2 separate regions of the Homo sapiens genome follow, and region 1 is linked to region 2. The links are contacts of gene promoters, found by promoter capture Hi-C in blood cells and fetal thymus (Javierre and others, 2016). All regions are on one chromosome and are shown on one strand. Each heading gives the region's core, a stretch centred on a gene start or on the middle of the fragment in contact. The rest is flanking DNA. Distances are from core to core; before and after follow the strand shown. Region 1 has its middle 50 kb from the start of ZNF365. Region 2 holds the start of ARID5B (AT-rich interaction domain 5B).

Evidence for each region. The method cuts DNA at HindIII sites, captures the fragments that hold promoters and counts their contacts. A CHiCAGO score of 5 or more calls a contact.
Region 1: a fragment that was not itself captured here is called in contact with the fragment with the promoter of ARID5B in region 2 in 3 of 17 cell types (total B cells, naive CD4 T cells and naive B cells); the score reaches 5.9 in total B cells.

What each region holds. Positions count from the first base shown.
Region 1 is chr10:62,421,343-62,426,654 of GRCh38, forward strand. It overlaps a transcript of ZNF365 not described here. Among named protein-coding and RNA genes, the nearest start is that of ZNF365, 50 kb to the left of the region's middle. The HindIII fragment of the contact is 847 bases long and covers 2,006-2,852 here.
Region 2 is chr10:61,899,997-61,905,326 of GRCh38, forward strand. It overlaps ARID5B (AT-rich interaction domain 5B), which reads left to right and starts at 1,703. Exons shown (of 10, transcript NM_032199.3): 1 at 1,703-1,734; 2 at 2,163-2,417. The coding sequence starts at 1,714. RefSeq lists silencers at 225-394, 3,135-3,454 and an enhancer at 1,393-1,895. The HindIII fragment of the contact is 3,094 bases long and covers 1-2,487 here.

The DNA of each region.
Region 1 (5,312 bases), core at 1,179-3,678, 520 kb after region 2:
CAAGGGTGAATCCACAGTTGATAAAGTAAAATACCCAATCTTTTTAGGGATTACTTCTCATCAGCCTTGAGCTGATGCAAATTCCTCAGGACCATGAATCCTCTATACTCAGTTAAGCGGGTGGGCTTTAGAATTTGGGTGATAAAATGAAATGTTAACCCAAGTCCGTATCACGTAAAGCCAGGAACTCTGCAAAACCACAGTGTGCTAATCCCTGAAAGCATGGTTGAAATAGATTTAATTATGTACTGACAGCCTCCCGACATTGGCATACTCACTGTTGAAGTAAAGGCTTTAATGATAGAGATATGCAAGAAGTCCTTGGGATTTCTTTCTCCAAATAGTAAACAATAATTGATACTACATCCCTGAGGTAATTGAAAAGATCAGTGCCACCATCAAAATCTTGAAAGCTGCAGAGCTATTGATTTCTTTCAGGTCAGCATTAACTTATCTGTTTGCTCTATGCAGAATACAGATGAATCTGGAATAATGACAGCAGATTATTACAACTATAGTTGTTACAGATGTGAACTCCTTGCTGGATCTATAGCTGATACTCAGCTATTGATTTGGATAATGTTTTACCACTGTATTCTGAATAGCAAAAAAATATCAGAAGCAGCTTCCTCTTATCTGCAAGGTACTGCCATATATCTTCATTGTCTTAGTTCAGAGTTATGTTAGTATTCTGGTTTTCAGCAATAATCTAGTCCAGAGAAACCAAGTATTACCATTCTACAGGGCAGCATGTTGGTCCATTATATGGATGAGTCATGCTGAGTGGGCTGTGTGAGTAGGAAGGAACCAGTATTTTAGATGCCTTGATAACTGCATGCATGCCAGAGGTGGGAGAAACACCCCATGAAAATTCAAGGCATGTCATCTTGTTCATCTTGATGAAACTTCTAGGGTTGGGTAGACTGGGAAATGTGATATCTCATAAGAAAGAGAATATAAGTCGCTATGCCTTACACCCTCATCATTAAGGAGGCACAATATTTTGTGAACTTCTTTGGTTGTTAAAGGCAACATTCCCCACTTTTGAGTGTACTGCTCTGACTCATTTACCAGATGACAACCAGTAAATTTGCCAGTTTTGAATGGACCTAGACTAAAGGAGGCACTGCAGCTGGTCTGGACTGCTGTGAAAACCACTCCACTATTTAGACCTAATGACCAAGCAGACCCAATGATGCACAACATGTCTATGGCAGCTAGAGGTGCTGTACAAATGGAGCTGTGAGAAAACCCAGTAGGAGAAACAGTGCAGATACCTAGGGCTTTAGAGCGCGGCCATGCTCTATTCTGAAAATGATCATTTATTCAGTTTGGAAATAGTTCTTAATTCTCTACTGGGCCCTAGTAGAGACTGAATGCCATACCACCTAAGTAGCCCATCATGAGTTAGGTGTTATCTCATCCACCAAACCTTACAATTGGGTGTTCGTAGAGTACTCCATGATCACAAGAAAAGAAAACTGCATATGAGATGGAAATGAAGTTGATCTTGAAGACGAAACTAAGTTGTGTGAGTACCTGGCACAGACTCCCTTGGCACCTACTTTTGCTGTCTTGCCAACTTGTTCTCAACTCACACCTCTAGTCTCCTAAGAAATATCCCTGATGAGTTGTCTGAGGAAGGAAATATTTGGGCCTCTTTCATGGATGGTTTCACACAATGTGTTGGCACCAGCTAGGGGGAGACTTACTATAATGTTAAATGAATTTATAGTGGCAACTAACTTATATAATAGATACTCCATAAATGTTAGTCTTTCTTATCAATTTCCAAACTGTGTTCTGTAGCATGTCACTAAGTAAGATACTTGAAAAGAATTCCTGGTCTATACAACATTTTTAATAGAAACTTAAAAAAAAAACTCCAGGAGTTCTAAAGGAGTTAGTATAGTAAGATACATTTTGAATTTCAGCATTTCTCAAGCTTTAGGAGTTCTAAAGGAGTTGGTATACTAAGATACATTTTGAATTTCAGCATTTCTCAAGCTTATTTGACTCCAAGACTCCTACTTCATAGAGTATTTCACAGGATTAGTGCTTTTCAGAATCTACCTTGGGAATTTCAGCAATTCAGACTTGGACAGAATATTAGTTCTGATAACCAGGAATGATTTGGGTACATTCAATCATTCCAGTTTTTTCAGAATATTAGTTTTGATAGCCAGGAAGAAAAGTGTTAAATTTTTACACTAACTCTAGGATGTGACATGTGCTCATCTTGGCTATTCTAAATGACTAGAATTCTTAGTTCAAAAAGATATTTTAATAGAAAATCCTTGCTATGAGGGTAGCGTAGGTGACACTACCCAAAAGGAGCATGTAAATCAAATTTAATGATGATTTTTCCATTTTATAATAGGGATTAGGGTTACAAGGAGATCACAGCTCTCTGAATCCAATTAGGACTAATAAAATGCATGCTTTGAGCTTACAAATGAATTGATTTAGAGAGGAAATAATTATAATAATAAGCATGATATTTGGCACTATGATTACATATTAGGTTATTCAGATTATTAAAATCATTCTTATTTTCAAAACTGAATGTACATAGTTTTGCACAATGCAATGAAGTTTATGGAGTCTGAAGTATATTATACTTTCTTTTGAGACACTGATGGAAGGAAAGAATTGTAAACAAGATAAGGGCTCGAGGTTAGGATAAAGAAAAAAATTAGACCTTATTAGAGATAACTGTGTTATTAATGAACTTTTATAACAGACTATAGCAAATATTATCTGGGGAAAGAACAAAACATGATTGATCAGACCAAATTTCTGAGAACTCTATTAATTTGAGAAGCCTGTGAGTGAGTATGCTTATCCAATGAAGCTTAGTTTGATTTTGATCCCATTACTGCCCCCTTGCTATCAAATTTAACACTTAATGTTCTTTTTGTAAGTGATAGGAGATGAAGAGGTGGTAAGGTCCAAGAAAGTACACCTTTTTGCAGGCACCAGTACCATGTCCAGCTCTTCTCAACCAGGGTTTTAGGAGAGAATTGAAGCACGATGCTCTCAGGAATCTATTATAAGCAATGAATTAACTTCCCTCCTATGCATCTAAAGTGATACTAGCTATGTCTCATCCTTGGGATAATTGAGAAAATAGTCATTTGATAATTTTCTGTTGGCCTAGTTCTCTAGTGGAAACATTTTAAGCAGAGGCTATTTTGGACCACTGATCACAAAACACCTGTCAATGAGAGTTTTAAAAATTCTTGCATGCTGTCTTCACTGATTTGGATTCCATTGATCAGGAATGGGATTCAGCAGTATGTGTTATAAAAATCTCTCTAGATATTTCTGATATAACCAAAGTCTGGGAACGACCGCTCCAAATATAGAATACTGGTAGCCAAGATGCTTTATGAGACAAATGTTCCATGGCCTACAGTGCCCCAGTTGGGGACTTACAATGACATTGATGTATTAAAGAATCTCAATTGTCCTAGAGTTACTACACAGTTATCCCAGGTTTCTGAAACTTATTTCAAGATGGAAAACGTTTTTGCTGGATACCTGTAATTATCTTGTGGAACCAGAGTGCCACAGAAGCACTTTGGGAAATGAGGCTAGAGAATGGCTGTTGGCATCCGAGAATGCAGGCTTCAGCAGGGTCTTCTGCAGCCAATTTCCACACAACCTCCCTGCTCTGTCACCTTTAGAAACACATCCTTTTGGGTCTTAGAAGTTTTTCATTTCAAGAGTCCCTTGTTTTTCAAACAGTAAACTGACTTTGTTGATTACACCAAAATAAACTCCAGATGTATTAACATTTTAAATGTTACGTTTAAGTTCATAAAATTATAAGAAGAAAAAAATAAAGTTTTCTTCATTCATGGAGTGGAGATAACCTTCCTAGATAAGACACAGAGTCTAGAAGCCATTAAGAAAAGGTTGATAAATTTTATTACCTAAAATGTAATACTTCTGTATAGCAATTATGATTAAATATATGACATATATAAAAATACATAATCTCAATATAAACAAAATAACACAATGGTAAGCTGAGGAAAACATTTGTAATATATATGCTAGGCAAGGGATGATTTCTTTAACATGTGAAGGATTCCTAATCAGTAAGAAATGACAGGCAAGCTAAGAGCAAATATGCATATGAACCAACAGTTCACAGAGTAACAACTACAGATTCTCAATAATTACTTGAAAAGAGGGGGCCAGATATGGTCCAGTCAAGGACCTGTGTGATTACCATTCCCTCTGCCTAAACTGTCCCTTCCCCAGATTTTCTTTTGGCTCTCAGGCTGACCTGTGAAGCCTTTGGGTCAGTGTCACTTTCTCAGGAGGCCTTCCCTGCTTCACACTGCACACTCGGCATTCCCCATTTCCTTTCCTTGCTTTACTTCTCTTCATAGAATGTATCACCATCGGATGTACCATATATTTTCTTATTTATCTGGTTATTGTTCATTTATCACCATTAGAAGACAAGGTCTATGAAGGCAGGGAATATGGTGCTGACTGCTATAGCCTTCACACTTAGACCCATACCTGGCATATAGTAGGAATTTGACAAATATTTGCTGAATGAAAAAATGAATAAATAATAAGATGCTCAAGTTGGTCATAATTAAAGAAATGCAAGTCCAAACAACCATTTTGACTCAGTAATGATTGACAAACTTGTCAATAATCAGTCAAAATGTTTTAATCCCTCCCTATATGTTAAAGCCTATACTAGCGGTTTTATTTTTAGAACTCCAGAACCAAACTCTTCATCTTTGCCCCCACACCTGATTGTGTGATTCGCCTACTAGATTGATGATGTCACTGTCTTTCTAATCCTTGACTCCTCTTTCTTCCTTTTGGTTGACTCATCTGGATGACTGAAATAACTTCTTTGGTTCCCCTACCTACAGCTTTGATCAGTGCCATGCTAATCTGAAACATAGCTGAAACTAATCTGAATCATAGCTCTGCACCTGCCACTCCCCTGTCCAGAAGCCTCTGTGGTCTGTTCCTCACCATAGTTGTCTAGGTTTTCCATGATCCAGTCAAACCTCCCTGCAGGCTACCCTGCTAGATATGCACAGCCCAGTTCCAGAATCCTAAATATACCCAGAGCTTTGTTCCTTTGTAGTTGTTCTGTGTTCTTTAATGTGATGGTGCAGCTACAGGAGAGGCTCTGGAAACAAAGTTTATTATGCTCACAGGCCCTAAAAATAGGAGGCATGCTACATCACTCAAAGTCATTTGAGGAACACCAGGTTCTGGTCAAGAGGTAGAAGACAGGAGCAAGAGGAAGGCAGGCTAGAGCTTTTACT
Region 2 (5,330 bases), core at 453-2,952:
TGCCGGGTGTATTAACTTCAGCCATGTGAATATAATTTTCATTAAAGTAATCCTGTTTCAACTAGATGCTGTGACTAGAGGTGAAACGTTGCGAAAGCGTTAAAAATAGCTTACTAGTAATTTCAACATCCTGTAATTTTATCACAGATCAAGTTTCAACTGTCATACTATACAGACCTTATTCCCCATATAGTACATGTTTACTTTTTTAGCATGCCAGACCCACTTTGGAAAGATTGGTGCCAATATAATAAAAGCTGGAGGGGGGGTGTGCTGGAAGGAGTGGGAGGAGAGCGGGGAAGGGGGTGGGGGAACGTGGGGGAAGCGAGTACACCATTTTAAATCAACACTGCGAAAATGCAATCTAGCCTGGCGGAGGACCGGCAGCTGGGTCGGAGCTTGCGAGGGCTTTGCAGTCTCTGCCTGTTCCTTGTTCTGTCGCTCTTAAGTTTCTCTGTGTTTGCATAATAGCCGTGCATGCAAACCTCGCAATGCTCCAGGGCTCCAGAACAATAAATATACACATTTAAAGCCTTTATTGTCTTACGGTTCATGCCCCCGGTTTTCAACAGCTTAATTTCTGGTTGTATTTAACTAGTTTGCAAATGGATTTTTTCAGTTTCAAACTATTATTGAGGAAGCTCCCCTCCCTTTTTTGGCGGGGGAGGGGATGGGGGTGGGGTAGGAGTCGGTATATTATTCCTGTAGCGCTGGGTTATATAAACACATTATCATTTGAGAGCGCCCTTGGCGTCCATCAGCATTGTAAACACGTACTAGTGTATATACTTCAAAATTAAAGAATGCACACGCAGAACCGGGAGCCTGAATTCATATTCTGAGCAGACTCGCTTCTCGCATTTATTGATTTATCATGCATCGTTTATTGTTCCAGTCCCTAAATGCAGTCGCTGTCCGTTCAATATTGTTTGCGAAATCCTAAGATGTGTGTGCACTGCTCACTTGTCTCTTTTTTTTTTGCTGAGTATTTTTTTGCGAAGCGAACAAATGCATTAATATTTATATGTTTATATAATCGATAACCCACTTTTCCCTTCCATGTAAATAGGCATCAAAAGATAATTTAACAGATTAGTTCTCGAAAACATGGCAGTGAGGAAGCGTAATTTAACTATCAAACAAATCTACATGTCTAATAACAGCAAATCTGCTAAGAAGCATTAGAAAGAGGAGCAGCGCCCCGGAATCTCTGCAGGAAATGTTCTTTATATTAGACATATACAAGCAGGTCCTGTCAGATGCACAGTGGAGCTCGCTACCCCTCCTCTCCTCCAAAAATCTCATCAGACGATATCCCAGACAGGAGCGGTTAGAGAGAGAGGAATCACATCTCCACACAGTTTTAGGGTGCTTTTTATTTTTACAAATCTTCTTGTGTGTTTTTTGCCTTGATCCATCCTCTTCCCGCCGAGATCGTATGGCGCCTTTCTCTCGATTATGAATTTGATCAATCCATCTTTGGAAGAAAACCCACATAGTTTTTTCAGGAGCTGAAAATTGAGTCGTTATAGAAATATTAGGACATATTTTCAATCATTTCGGTGCCCGAAGGGAGGCAAGAGCTCAGTTTTATATTGAGACATTACGCCGGCTGAAGGCAGAGAATGCGTTTCCCTGCCAGGACCTGATGCAATCCATTCAAGCCAACAAGTTTGGAGAGAATGTTGAGTTCAATCAATTCAGAACGTCGAGATGGAGCCCAACTCACTCCAGGTATTTCGCTCTCCTCCGCTCCTCCGATCCCGGCACCCCCCGGCACCCCCCAACCCCCCAGCTCACCCACACCTCTGCACCCACCCACACCCCCCACAAACTTTTCACCAAACTTTTACCCTCTGCATCCCCCAAAATCATTTTTATTGTTTAAAAAAATCCCTGCACTGATCATACATACATAATGTAATTTTACCGCCTCAAATGGGGAGGTGGGTAGAAGTGGCGGTGGGGGGCCCTGAGTTTTTTTTTTTTTTTTTTTAGGGAAGCAGAAAATTTGTGGGTGCTATTATTTTTCCACCCAGCGTTATATCTGTTGGGTCGTCTGTATTAAGAGAGTGGATGTCTGTGTGTAAATGTGTCTGGGAATAGATGTTTGTGCTCTGATGGCTACATTATTTATTTGGTGTTTTTTTCCCCCCCTGCAGTGGGTCGGCTCACCGTGTGGCTTGCACGGACCTTACATTTTCTACAAGGCTTTTCAATTCCACCTTGAAGGCAAACCAAGAATTTTGTCCCTTGGCGACTTTTTCTTTGTAAGATGTACGCCAAAGGATCCGATTTGCATAGCGGAGCTCCAGCTGTTGTGGGAAGAGAGGACCAGCCGGCAACTTTTATCCAGCTCTAAACTTTATTTCCTCCCAGAAGACACTCCCCAGGGCAGAAATAGCGACCATGGCGAGGTGGTAAACCTGTCTGTCCCCCTCTTCTTTCTTTATTATTTTTCCCCCTAGTAATGCTTATTACAGGGCAAGCTTGAAAATACTGTATTCACTTCTGCAGGCAAGCAGGATCGACTCCTTTTTTAAAGGGGTAGCGCCACTAGCTGGGGCTCGAGTATTTTGCCATTGTCAGAGTTTGGCTGTCAGCTTTACAAAGAGGATCCAACTGCTGATTTTAGTCAAGATCAAATAACTTGTTCGAGAAGGGTTTTGTTCAAGGATGTGTGTGTGTGTGTGTGTGTGTGTGTGTATGTGTGTGTGTGTGTTCATTTGCTCTCCTGCTATTGCCTCTTGAACATCACATGCTTTTTATATTTTTTGCCTTTTGAAAATTTACCTTCGTGTCTGGCTCGGTCGTGTCTGGGTGGATTTCTTTCGGTGGGTTTCGATATTGTTCTTTTTTCAAAGTAAGTATTTGATATGTTTAAGAGGGCGGAAATTACGAAATGGAGGCAGAATGAGATCAAAAGCTATTGAGTTGGCAAAGACGTGTTGAATAAAGTGATAAATGACAGGTACTGGAATAATACATTCAAATAACTTGCAGATCTGCCCGGGCGGATTTCAAAGCGGTGGTGTAACAGGCACAAACACGTTAAGCATTAACAACTATCTCTCGCCCACTCCCCCTCCCCCCGGACAAGCCATTTGATGTTCTAGTTTGCAATTACTCCACGCAAAGTGGACGTCCTCCTGCGCGATCTTTGGGGGTGTGTGGGACGGGGGCGGGGGAGGGGAGGGCAGAGGGGTGTGTGCTCGCCCACTGGCCCTGCGGGTCCAGCGTTCTCCGTGCCCAGACGGCGCTCCCGGGGAGGGCGGGGAGGGGACAGAGCCTCCCCGGCACGTTTCTGGGCGGCCGCGGGGGCGCTCGCCGCGCTCCCGGGAGGACGCCGGAGGTGAGCCCGCTGTCACTGGGCGCCGGGGCGGCCGCCTCCCTTCGGCTCTGTCATTTCATGTGTGACCGCAGTTCTGCGGGCTCCCCTCCTCAGCTGACCGACCTCAGCGCCGTGGTACCTACCGAGGGGAACTATTTTGGGGAGTCTGTGCCCACGGCGCAGCGGGGAGGGAGGGCGCACTGCCGCCTGGCGAGGCTTTGTGTTGCCAAAGCGAGAGCAGGGTAATCAAACAGACTTTTGAGGGCAGCTAGTGCTGTGCCAGGCTCTCGAGCTTTCGAGGTAGGTGTAAGGATCTAAGGATCTTTTTGTTAAATGAATGGTTTCCCGTTTAACTCATCCCGGGGCTCGGAGCTGCCAGTCCTTCCAGAATTCCTCGGTTTGATCGAGTTGATAGTACTTTTGGCATTGCTAGTTCACTCCCTCTCCCCAGGATCGAATTACTCGTCAGTGGTCTATGCCGGTTAATTACTGGAGTTCGTCGAAACGTTCGCCCTCGAATCTGCCTTTTCGGAAATAAGCCCCTCCCACCTCCCCGCTCACCTCCCCCCTCCACCCTCCCCGGCCAGCTTTGGTTTTTAAATGTTCATATTTCCCGACGTCCGCCTGCAATTTTAAAAAGGTGTTGTTTGGAAATACTGTGAAAAATCCTGCAACCTACCAACAGGTTGAGCTCTTTCCCCCTCCCAAGGTCTGGCTCGGCCCCCTCCCCCGACCCAACTTTCCTGCGCAGCTGTCTTCCTCCCCCTCCCTCTCCCCCTCCTGATTTCTTATTATTTGCTTTTCAAATTTATTACTTCAACATGGCCTGTGATCTGGAAAAGGGAAGGATTAAATATCCAGAAAAGAACTGGTGCTTAACAGACTTCTGACTAAGTCCAGGAGGAAATTATTCAGTGTTTTATGGGATATTTTGTGGTCACTCTTTTTTGGGGGGCGGGGAATTGAAATTGGGATGTTTTTTAAAGACCCTGAGTTGACCCCACTTGGTACAGTTTTAATTTTTGTTGGTGTAATTAAATGGTGAATTCTGATTTAAGAATAAAGGCTATATTTGCCAAACGTTGCATCTGCTAGAAGTGTTGACAGTGAATAGATATATTTTTAAATACACGATTTCTTTTTAATTGTTCATTATGGGGAATTGAAAGGGAACCATTGTAATGATCTGTGCATTTCGTCACTGCTATATGAGCCATACCTGAGAAAATTAATCTTGCCATTTAAAAGTAAACTCTAGGGGGTTTGCGGAGGGAGATGGCTCTATTTATAATCCTCAGCTGCATATACATCGTCTAATATTATGCATGATTTGTTTTTTAATGCTAACACGGCTGGTAATTAGCTGTATGATTATACTTGTATATTTCATTAGGACTTTGGCTGATGTCATTGTGAATTATTCAGCCATATTAAAACAATTTTCAATTGAGATAATGACACGCCTCAAAATTATGCAAATGCAGACTGCATTGTGCAAAATAATTATGACAAATGTAAAGCAGGTAGAAAGTTTCCCAATGCAGATCGGTTTTCCACCCTGGTGATGTCATTTCCCCCCTGGCCTAAGTTAGTCATTCATTAGCAGAATAGCAGCAGCAGTCTTCTCTGGAGGAGAGCCTTACAGAAACCAGCATTTACTGCTGGCACCTAGAGGGGGCAACAGGGCCCTCTCATTAAGAAATTTGCTTTGTTTTCACTTATTCCATTAACTTGTTTATATACATTTAAATGATTTTTATTATTGATTTTAAATAGTTTTGAATGATGCATTTGCCATTTGCAATGTGTAACTGAAAGAGAAAGGTTTCTTGGTGATATGCACTGTTACTTGGAGAAAATGTTCAGCACATTTAATCAGCCAGTACAGTTTATTTTAAGTAACCAAATGGAGATTAATAATTTCTTGATTGAGCTGACATCAGCATCCATTTCGAAAGGACAGCCAGGACTCAGTATGCTTTTTTTGGTTTAAGAGAAT